Linked DNA regions of Homo sapiens: region 1 is linked to region 2. Evidence: promoter capture Hi-C in human tissues and cell types (Jung and others, 2019). All regions are on one chromosome and are shown on one strand. Each heading gives the region's core, a stretch centred on a gene start or on the middle of the fragment in contact. The rest is flanking DNA. Distances are from core to core; before and after follow the strand shown. Region 1 has its middle 14 kb from the start of KCNG4. Region 2 holds the start of WFDC1 (WAP four-disulfide core domain 1).

Evidence for each region. The method cuts DNA at HindIII sites, captures the fragments that hold promoters and counts their contacts. A contact is called where the count stands out against the background at its distance.
Region 1: a fragment that was not itself captured here is called in contact with the fragment with the promoter of WFDC1 in region 2 in 9 of the 25 tissues and cell types used here (H1 embryonic stem cells, IMR-90 fibroblasts, adrenal gland and 6 more).

What each region holds. Positions count from the first base shown.
Region 1 is chr16:84,251,263-84,255,782 of GRCh38, forward strand. No RefSeq gene overlaps it. Among named protein-coding and RNA genes, the nearest start is that of KCNG4, 14 kb to the left of the region's middle. The HindIII fragment of the contact is 8,191 bases long and covers 1-4,520 here.
Region 2 is chr16:84,293,535-84,298,163 of GRCh38, forward strand. WFDC1 (WAP four-disulfide core domain 1) reads left to right here and starts at 1,344. Exons shown (of 7, transcript NM_021197.4): 1 at 1,344-1,581. The coding sequence starts at 1,438. LOC124903734 reads left to right here. Exons shown (of 6, transcript XM_047435022.1): 5 at 1-101; 6 at 799-1,304. The coding sequence ends at 1,304. The HindIII fragment of the contact is 18,601 bases long and covers 1-4,629 here.

The DNA.
Region 1 (4,520 bases), core at 1,615-4,114, 41 kb before region 2:
GAGGATCACTTGAGCCCAGAAGGTTGAGGCTGCAGTGAGCCATGATTGCACCACTGTACTCCAGCCTGGGTGACAGAGTGAGACCCTATCTCAAAAAAGAAAAAAGGAAGAAGACAAGACACATCCCTGGCCTTAGGCCTTCACATGGGGAGACAGATTCATAACCAAGTCCGTCATAACAAAGATGGATTTAGAGTAATGAGGATGGAGTGTAACCATTGAGTCTGGGGAGGACAGGGAAAAACTGAGATTGGTTAGCATTGGGAGAATCCAAGGAAGGTTTTTGGAGGAAGGGGCATTGAGCTGGGCATGGACCTATGGGCAGGCATTTGGGCTGAGGGGAATCCAGGAGTGAGGGTTGAGGTGTATAGGGTGGGGCAGGTCTGTGTGGCTGGCACAGGACGGCCAGGGATTAGGTTAGAAAGGAAAATGGGGTTAGAGCAAAGATGGCGCTGAATCCTGGGTTGGATTCTTGGATCTTATTCCAAAGGCATCGCAGAATCATGGAAAGAATTCAAGAAGTACTTGGCCAGATCTGACGTACCTTGGGGAGGATACATCCAGGGTGGGATTTGAAGACCAGATGAAGGCAGAGACAAGACAGCGACCCCAGTTAAGAGACCACAAAAAGAGTGTGTGAGTGAGATAAGAACCTGAACAAAGGAGGCGGTGGAAGGAATGCAGGGGTGTTTCAGGAAGAATAAATGTTGACAGGGCTTGGGACTGGGTGGCTGCAGGGAATGAAGGGCCAGAGGAGGCTGCTGTGGCCCCAAGATTTCCAGTCTGTGTGGCAGAGTGGATGAAGGGGGCAGCCACTCACATAGAAAGCCGTGGGGGAGGAGAAGTTGGGGCAGAGGATGTTGGCCTTGCGCATGCTGGGTTCAGGGCATCACTGGAGACGTGGGGATTTGGAGTCCGGAGCACACAGAATTGCACAGCGCTGGAGTTCAAAGGCGCGTTTCCCCAGCACCTTTGTCCCCGGATCAGAACTCACCTTCAGAGAGGTGCAGTGAGAAGGGGGGTCTGTGCAGAATGGGGGTCATCTAAGAATGGACGGGGAGGCACAGCCGGCACAGGCCTCTGGGTAATTGGAAGGTCAGTTGTCACCTTTCAGGGCGGTTTCTATGGCAACAGAGGGAAGTTGCAGTGTGGAGGGGAGGGGAGCCCAGGAAGCTGGAAGTTTGGGAGTGAATGAATGAAAAGGAAGGTAGGGTGAGAGGTGGGGGGACAGGGTGGAGGCCAGGAGGTGAGGGGAGTCAGGATCCAGTGGAGAGGGAAGAGGGAGATGCAGGCAATTGAGGGGCAATCCAGAAGGCAAAACTGTGGGGAAAGCAATGAATTTCCTCTCAGTCCTGTGAGATGGGAGGCCTGGAGGGAAACCCGGGAAGAGGACTTCCCACAGAAGGCCGGGTCCTGGCTGACAGGCAGGGAAGGAACCAGGATCTGGGTCTTGTTGGATATGGAAATGGGCTGGTCCCAGGCGTGTCCTGGACTGTGATGGGTAGGGACCCTTTTAAAGTTTCCCAGGGTTTCCAAAGAACAGCCTGGGTGAGTCTGTGTAGCCCAGCACACGAAGACCCCACTGGGGCAGCGTTGAGAGCGGTAGACTGCCTTCAACTATTCCTTGTCAGTTGCTAATTATTTCCTGCAGAACAGTGTGTGTGTGTGTGTGTGTGTGTGTGTGTGTGTGTGTGTGTCGGGGGCGGGGGGGGGTGTTAGTTTCTTCCTCCGCACCCACTTCATCTTTCTACTCTCCCCCACTCCCTGGTGCCCTCCTGCGAAACTTTTGTGCTGTGCGTCTGTTCTCAATGACTTGCCATCTGCTGAGCCATTTCTGAGTATGAGTGACACCAGCGGTCCAAGGAAAAGAGTGTTGTTCCAGTAAGTTTGGGGGAAGGAGGGCCAAGCAGGTTCCCTTCTTGCAGAACTGCTCAGCACCTTTGAGAAGTTGATGGAAAAGGCACTTTGTCCATCATGCGCAACACTGGGGTTGTAGTGGAGTCTTTGGCATGGTGCAGGGTGTTTTGCACCGGCCTTGTTCACAGGAGTGGAGTCTACTCAGGGGTGACAATGATGGGACAAGAAGGCCAAATGGCAGGAGATGAGAATAGGAGTCTTGGGAGTAGGGCACAGTGATGGGGAGCAGCTGGCCCATTTCAGGCGGTCTTACTCCTGAAGGCCTCATCTCACAGCCTATCAACCTTCTTATGTGCACCCGCTTTTCACATCCAGAAACTGGTTTGCTCTGCAAAGATGTGGGTACATATTTATTGTTTTGCTTTGCAAATCTTTTGGCTATGAGGACCTTGTTTAATGGATGATTGGCACTGACTCCTCAGCAGACGTTGTACCTGCTTTAGAGAGGTCACTTCCAATGTGACAAGGAAGCTGACATGTGGCTTTTCAATGTAATGAAATATTTTGGGTACAAAATTGACTAATGAACAAATGGATATATTAAATATCAAAATCTATATTAATAACAGGTTATTTTTCCTCATGATTTGGAAACTTTGCATGTTTTCAGAATCATCCATCTTTTGGTAGGTCTTTGGGAAGCTTGACGGTCCTGGATCTTGGGGGCTAGGGGTGCCTAGTGGGGTCAAGGGAGGTCTGGGGGTCTTGGAAAGCCAGGAGGGGTGGGAGCCTGAGGTCTCCAGGAAGACAGGGGCGAGGTGGAGAGACAGGAGATCATAGGCAGAGATTGGCATCTACGTTCAGGATGTTGGAATTGGAGGAGTGTTGGCGGAGGGGTGTTGGGGTCCCTTGTGTCTGATGTGCCTGGGCAAGGAAGAGTTTCTGCTACCAGGACTCTCCTGAGGAAAAAGGATCTAAAACTTGGGAGCAAAGCAGACGGCTGTGTGTGCATCCTTTCAATGTCACACTGTAGCTTCTGTGAACAGGCCAGCTCGGGAGTTATTTATATTTAATTCTCTGGGGGAACTGTGGCTTTGTTTGACTCTTTTTGTACTGTTGAGTAGGGCCCCCGGAGTCTGACGTTAACATGTTAACTTGCAAATTTTTGTCTGGTAGAAATGAGTCTGATTGCTGTCTGTTAGTGAAGAAACCTCCAAGGTCATGGTTTTATTGCCCTGAAGAATGTTCTCCAGTTTTGTGTCTCACCCAGAATCCCTGTCCCAGCATTCTTCTCCCATGCCTGTGAATACTCAGGATGGTCACCAGCTTTAGTGTTCTTGGTCCTTTCACTTATGAGAATGAGGGATTTTTGACACATACTCATTCATTCTATATTCATGGGACAAGTTTGTTGTTTTTTTTTGGTTTGTTTGTTTGTTTGTTTGTTTGTTTTAGTAGAGACAGGGTTTCACCATGTTGCCCAGGCCAGTCTCAAACTCCTGGACTGAAGCAATCCACTTGCCTCGGCCTCCCAAAGTGCTGGGATTACAGGTGTGAGTGATCATGCTGGGCCCCATTTAAAAAAATGTTTTGAAAATTATATTTTGATGCCCTTTCCTAGTAGAACACATCTCCTGGAGGCCCAGGAAGGGAAGGTGGAGACTGGGATCATTGGGATCTTTGAGAGATTTTTGGTCTCATGGCACATGGTGGTGCCTCAGATGCAAGCACAGCAACCTCTGAGCCCTGCTCCAAGTTTGTATAGGTCAGTCCCCACTTCCAGGTGCCAAATTCTGTCACAGTGATCTTTTGCTGTGCAATAAGCCATCTTGAAAACACTGGCATAAAATAATGATTATTTATTACCAATTTTTAAAAAAGAGAGAATCCTGGCTTCTGTGGGTCAGGACTTTGGGCAAGGCACAACAAGAAAGGCTTTTCTACTTCATGATGTCTAGGGTCTCAGCCAGAAGCCCCAGAGCTGAGGGTGACTCTAGTATATGAGGCGGTGGCTGGAGGATCCCCTTCTAAGGTGTTCTTTTTAGTCCTGTGTCTGACACATTGGCAGGGATGGCTGGAAGGCTGGGCTCAGCTGGGACGGTTGCTCAGAGCACCTCTCTGCGGCCACTTCAGCATGGCAGCCTCCATGGGTAGTGAGACTTCTGAAATGACAGGTCAGTGCCTTGTGAGTAAGGTAGGAGCTGCATGGCTTTTTGTGACCCAGCCTGAAAAGTCACATAGTGTCATGTCTGCTGTGTCTAAGCAGTCAGAAGCCTGCCCACTCTCAAAGGGAGGGGACCCAGGCTCCACTTCTCAGTGGGAGGAATGTCAAAGAACCTGTGGTCATGTTAAAGTTGCTGCTGCTGCTTCTACAATTTCCATCCTCTTTGGTCCTTTCTGATGGCTCCTAATAACCCACATCTCATCATAAACCACAAGACTTTGCCAGAAGCCAAGGAAAGAGCAGCCCTCCAAATTGCACCTTTGTTCCCAGTTCCCACCAGAGTCCCTGGAGATTTTATCCATTCGTGATATCTTCTTTCTCTTGGTTCTTCCAGTCTTAGGGGTGGAGCTTCCAGTAATGTATTTGTGTTTCCAGAGAGCTCAAAACACAGCAGAAAATATGCCTGTTGGCATAGGGAATGTTCATGCTACATTTGGTA
Region 2 (4,629 bases), core at 94-2,593:
AGGCAGAGACTTTCACATGCCCATTTCACAGATGAGAGAACTGAGGACCATGAGCAAGAGGCTTTCCAGCATCTCGCAGAGGCTGAACTGGGATCAGGCAGGTGCGTCAAGCCTAGTGCTTGGGTCCCTTCTGCTTCGCCTAGGGGGGTGCCACAGGGTCTGACCTACCTGGGTTCCAGCCTCCTCTCTGCTGCTGTTGCATGACCTCAGGCAGCCCCCTCTGTTTCCTCATCTGTAAAGCGGGCATCAAAACAGTGTCTGTTTTGGGGCCGGGTGTGGTGGCTCACACACCTGTAATACCAGCACTTTGGGAGGCTGAGGCGGGCAGATCACTTAAGGTCAGGAGTTTGAGACCAGCCTGGCCAGCATGGTGAAACCCAGTCTCCACTAAAAATACAAAAATTAGCCAGGCATGGTGGCACATGCCTGTTATCCCAGCTACTTGGAAGGCCGAGACAGGAGAATCGCTTGAACCCGGGAGGCAGAGGTTGTAGTGATCTGTGATCACACCACTGCACTCCAGCGTGGGTGACAGAGCAAGACCCGTCTCGAAAAACAAAACAAAACAAAAAACCAGTATCTGTCTTGGAAGTGCTGAGAACAGACAAGGGAATATGAAGTTTGTGAAATGTTGAGCCCGCTGTGCTACATTCCTGTAAAACACACACGTGCACATGCACACCCACGTGCACACACGCATACACATAAATGCACATGTGCAGATACACCGGCTGACAGTGACAGCACACTTATGTGTGTGAAATGCTTTATGTGCTCAATTTCTTTTAAATCTCACAGGAAACACACGCTATGAGGAACTACCCACATGCCCACATCAGGCAGGAGGACCCCGGCGGGTGCAAGGGTGGAAGTCGTCTCTTCATGGCTGCACCCTTGGCCAGTGCCAGTCCAGCAGCCTCTTTCAAAGAAGCTTTTATAGGCAGATAGTTTGTCAGCCCAGCTCGAAATGTGAACAAGGTAGCAGCCGAGCCCCCACCCATCCGGCTGCACTCCCCTGCATGTCCAGCCCCGAGCCCTGTGTCAAGCACACCTCCTTGGGAGGAGACCGCCCCAGCCTGCAAGGAAGTGCTCATTATGGAGAGTGGAGAGTGACAGGCCACTCCCGGCCACGTCTCCAAGCAAGCCGGTGCCCCCTCCTCCTGCTGCCACCGCCCACTGAGCTGCCTGGGCTGCAGACGCCCTGGTTGGAGCGTCTGGGGCCAGATGTTATAGGGCAAGCTAAAAATAACCGGGCAGGCCAGCCACCATCGAGGAAGGGGCATGTGCTGGACGCGGACACATGATCCGAGGGACCCTGCTGGGTGGAACTAAGAAAGTCCAGCAGACTGTGCACGCTCCTGTCCCCACTCACAGGCCCACGCAGCGAGGGGGGCCCCTCTTCTGTGTGCGTCTGGAAGGTCGCTGCCCAGGGAGGAAATGCCTTTAACCGGCGTGGGGCCGGGCAGCTGCAGGAGGCAGATCATCCGGGCTCTGTGCCTCTTGCTACTTCTCCTCCACGCCGGCTCTGCCAAGAATATCTGGAAACGGGCATTGCCTGCGAGGCTGGCCGAGAAATCCCGTGTAAGTGCCTGGGATGGGGAGGCTGGGGCAGCCTGTGTGGGTGGGAGTCAGCCTTGAGGAGAGGCGATCCCTAGACACTGCCTTCTCCTGTAAGTGCTCCCCCAAAACGTGGCAAGGCAGGCGTCTTCCTATCCGTGTGTGTCTGAGTTGTGTGGTGGGCAGATGGGGCTCACCCCCAAAAAAGGACCCTTATCTGTGAATCAAGAGGCAAAAGACACATCACAAATGTGCCAAAGAATCGTGCCTTACTTTTGCCTTGTTACAAAAGTATGCTTGCTCCTGAAAGACAGCATCTCATTTCGGAACCCCAGGATTTAAACGGAGCATTCCGTCTCCCTGATCAGTACCAAATGTTTGTGAAATACACTTATGCATTCATGTGGTTGTTTATTCATTCAGCAAACAGAATGAATACACTCTGTTAAACAGAATTTAGCAGAAACCGCTCTGGGGAAGGCACTCTGTGGGGTCCTGTGGATACAAGATAAAGGAGGTACCAGCCCCCATCCTCAAGGGTGGCGTGGCCGAGGTGCAGAGGCAGTTGGGTGACAAACGATGGCAGTACAAAGAGAAGGCATGAGGCAGTGAGTGGCAAGAAACACATGCCCTGGGGCCAGATGTCTGGGTGTGAATCGGGCTCTGCTGCTCATTAGCTGCGTGGCTTCTCTCAGGCAAGCTGCTTGACGTCTCTGAACCCCAGCAATCTCATCTGCAAAAGACAGAGGGATGCATTTCTTCACACAACTATGTCTGGGTCGCCACTGTTTACCAGGTACTGTCCTAGGCTGTGGGGATACAGGCCTCACATCTCTGCCTGGGGAACTCAATGGGGGGCTGGGGGCAGCAAAGAATAAATGAGAGAGATCTCATTTATTAGTATGTGCAGATTGCAAGTGCTGAGGAAGCAATAAAGCAGGAAGGGAACTAGGAGAGAGAATGGGGTGGAGGAGGCTATCATTTTTGGTTCCTCCCACCCCCCAGAGATCACAGATCCGCAGGGACGGAGTGAGCCAGGACGATATCAGCACACAGAGGGCTCAAGAAGGTAATGCTGGCACCCACAGCACCTGTGTGAGGATTGAATGTCTCAGTATGTAGAACGTCTTTGCAACATAGCAAGCTGGCAGTGCATCTTGGCAGCTTTCAATCAAATAATTGTGACTTTGTTTGGTGTTGCCTAACAGGGTAGCATGTAGGTTCCTTGGGGTAGGGCAGGGTTCTGTTTCACTAATGTGTGCCCCTGGTGCCTGCCATTAAGTTGACGCCTGGTACATTCTTGTGGGTGAATTATGAGCGGCTGCAGTGGTAGCACGGGATGCGTGTGCAGCTCTTCCCCAGGAGAGTCAGACAGGGTTTTTAGGGTTGGGGACAGTGGACCTGTGGCTTTAAAGGATAAATAGGAGTTTGCCAGCTGGAGAAGAGGGAAGGGAGAATGATTAATGACCCCAGGCATAGTGGGGTGCCTGAAACTGTATTGAGACAAATCTGGGCCTCCAGGGCTCATATTCTCCATGTTCGGCACATGCTCGTGGCGGGAGACAGGAGGACTTCGAGAAGTGGAAAGAGTAGTAGAGTGACATGATGAGGCGCTTGGAGAAGGGAAAGCTCATGTGAGATGGTGTAGTCACCTAAGGCTTCCTGGAGGAGGTGGAGACCTTGACTGGATCTTGGGGAAGGATTAGGAATTAGGAGGAGGAAGGAAATTCCTGGAAGAAGGCTCAGCATGAGCCGAGGCTCACAGGCAGAAGTGGTGCATCTAAGAGCTGCTTGGGAGACCAGACCTGGCCAGAGGGGAGGCATTGAGGAGGGGTGAGAGACTCTTCTCAGATTTTATTGACTCCTCCATGCTCTTCTCTGGTGCAACAGGATGATTTAACCCTCAACTGTAGTTAGTAGCACTTTGGTTCTACAACCATAGAGAGATTGCCAATATGTCATCTGATTTTATCTCCACCATGTCCCAAGATGTCATAGGAGCCAGCACTGTGACATCCACATAGGAGGGTCAGGGTTGATATGCGCGGGGGATTTGGGGGAGTCTCTAAAACACAGGCCTGGGTGGGCTGCAGGAGCTGATTCACTTGTAGCCACCACTGGTCAGGATGCAAGTGCTTTGAATTGGCTCCTCGCTGAATTGAAACTTTCCCTGGTTATCAACAGATATTGGCCTCCTTCCTCAGCGCCTAGACATAGGTGAGGTTTATGCAGAACAACTGTGCCAGCCAGGCACGGTGGCTCATGCCTGTAATCCCAGCACTTTGGGAGGCCGAGGCGGGTGGATCACCTGAGGTCAGGAGTTCAAGACCAGCCTGACCAACATGGTGAAACCCCATCTCTACTAAAAATACAAAATTAGCTGGGTGTGGCGGCAAATGCCTGTAATCCCAGCTACTCAGAAGGCTGAGGTGGAAGAATTGCTTGAACCCGGGAGGTGGAGGTTATAGTGAGCCGAGATTGTGCCATTGCACTCCAGCCTGGGCAACAAGAGTGAAACTCTGTCTCAAAAAAAAAAAAAAAAAAAAAAAAAAAAAACTGTGCCTCAGAGAAAGCCCTGGGCGAAGACAGGCTGTTCGCCTGTGGCTCAGAGGACAGGGAGGGCTGGGAAGAGCACCTGGCCTGGAACTTATCACAGTGAAATCTCTAATGTGCTGTGCAATCTTGGACCACTCGCTGCCCTTCTCTGGTCCTCAGTCCTCACCTGGGAAATGAAGATGGAGAACCTATGACTTTCATGGCCCTTTCGTTCGACAGGGACTTACGGATGATAGGAAGCAGCCCCCACATGCACAAAGTCGAGACTTCCCCGTGAGGCACCACTCCCTCACCCTACGCTGAGTGAGACCTTCAGCCTTGGCCCTGACCCTCAAGGGCTATGGGCTCGTCAGAGTGAGGAGATGCTGGCTGTGTGCTGAACTGGCTTGCACCCCCTCTGGAGAGCCAGTTTTGTTCCACACAGCCATGATCACAAACTAAGTTATATAAACTTACAGTTAAATCATTTGTATTAAAAAGAAAGGAAAGAATTTTTTTTTTTTAAGACAGAGTCCC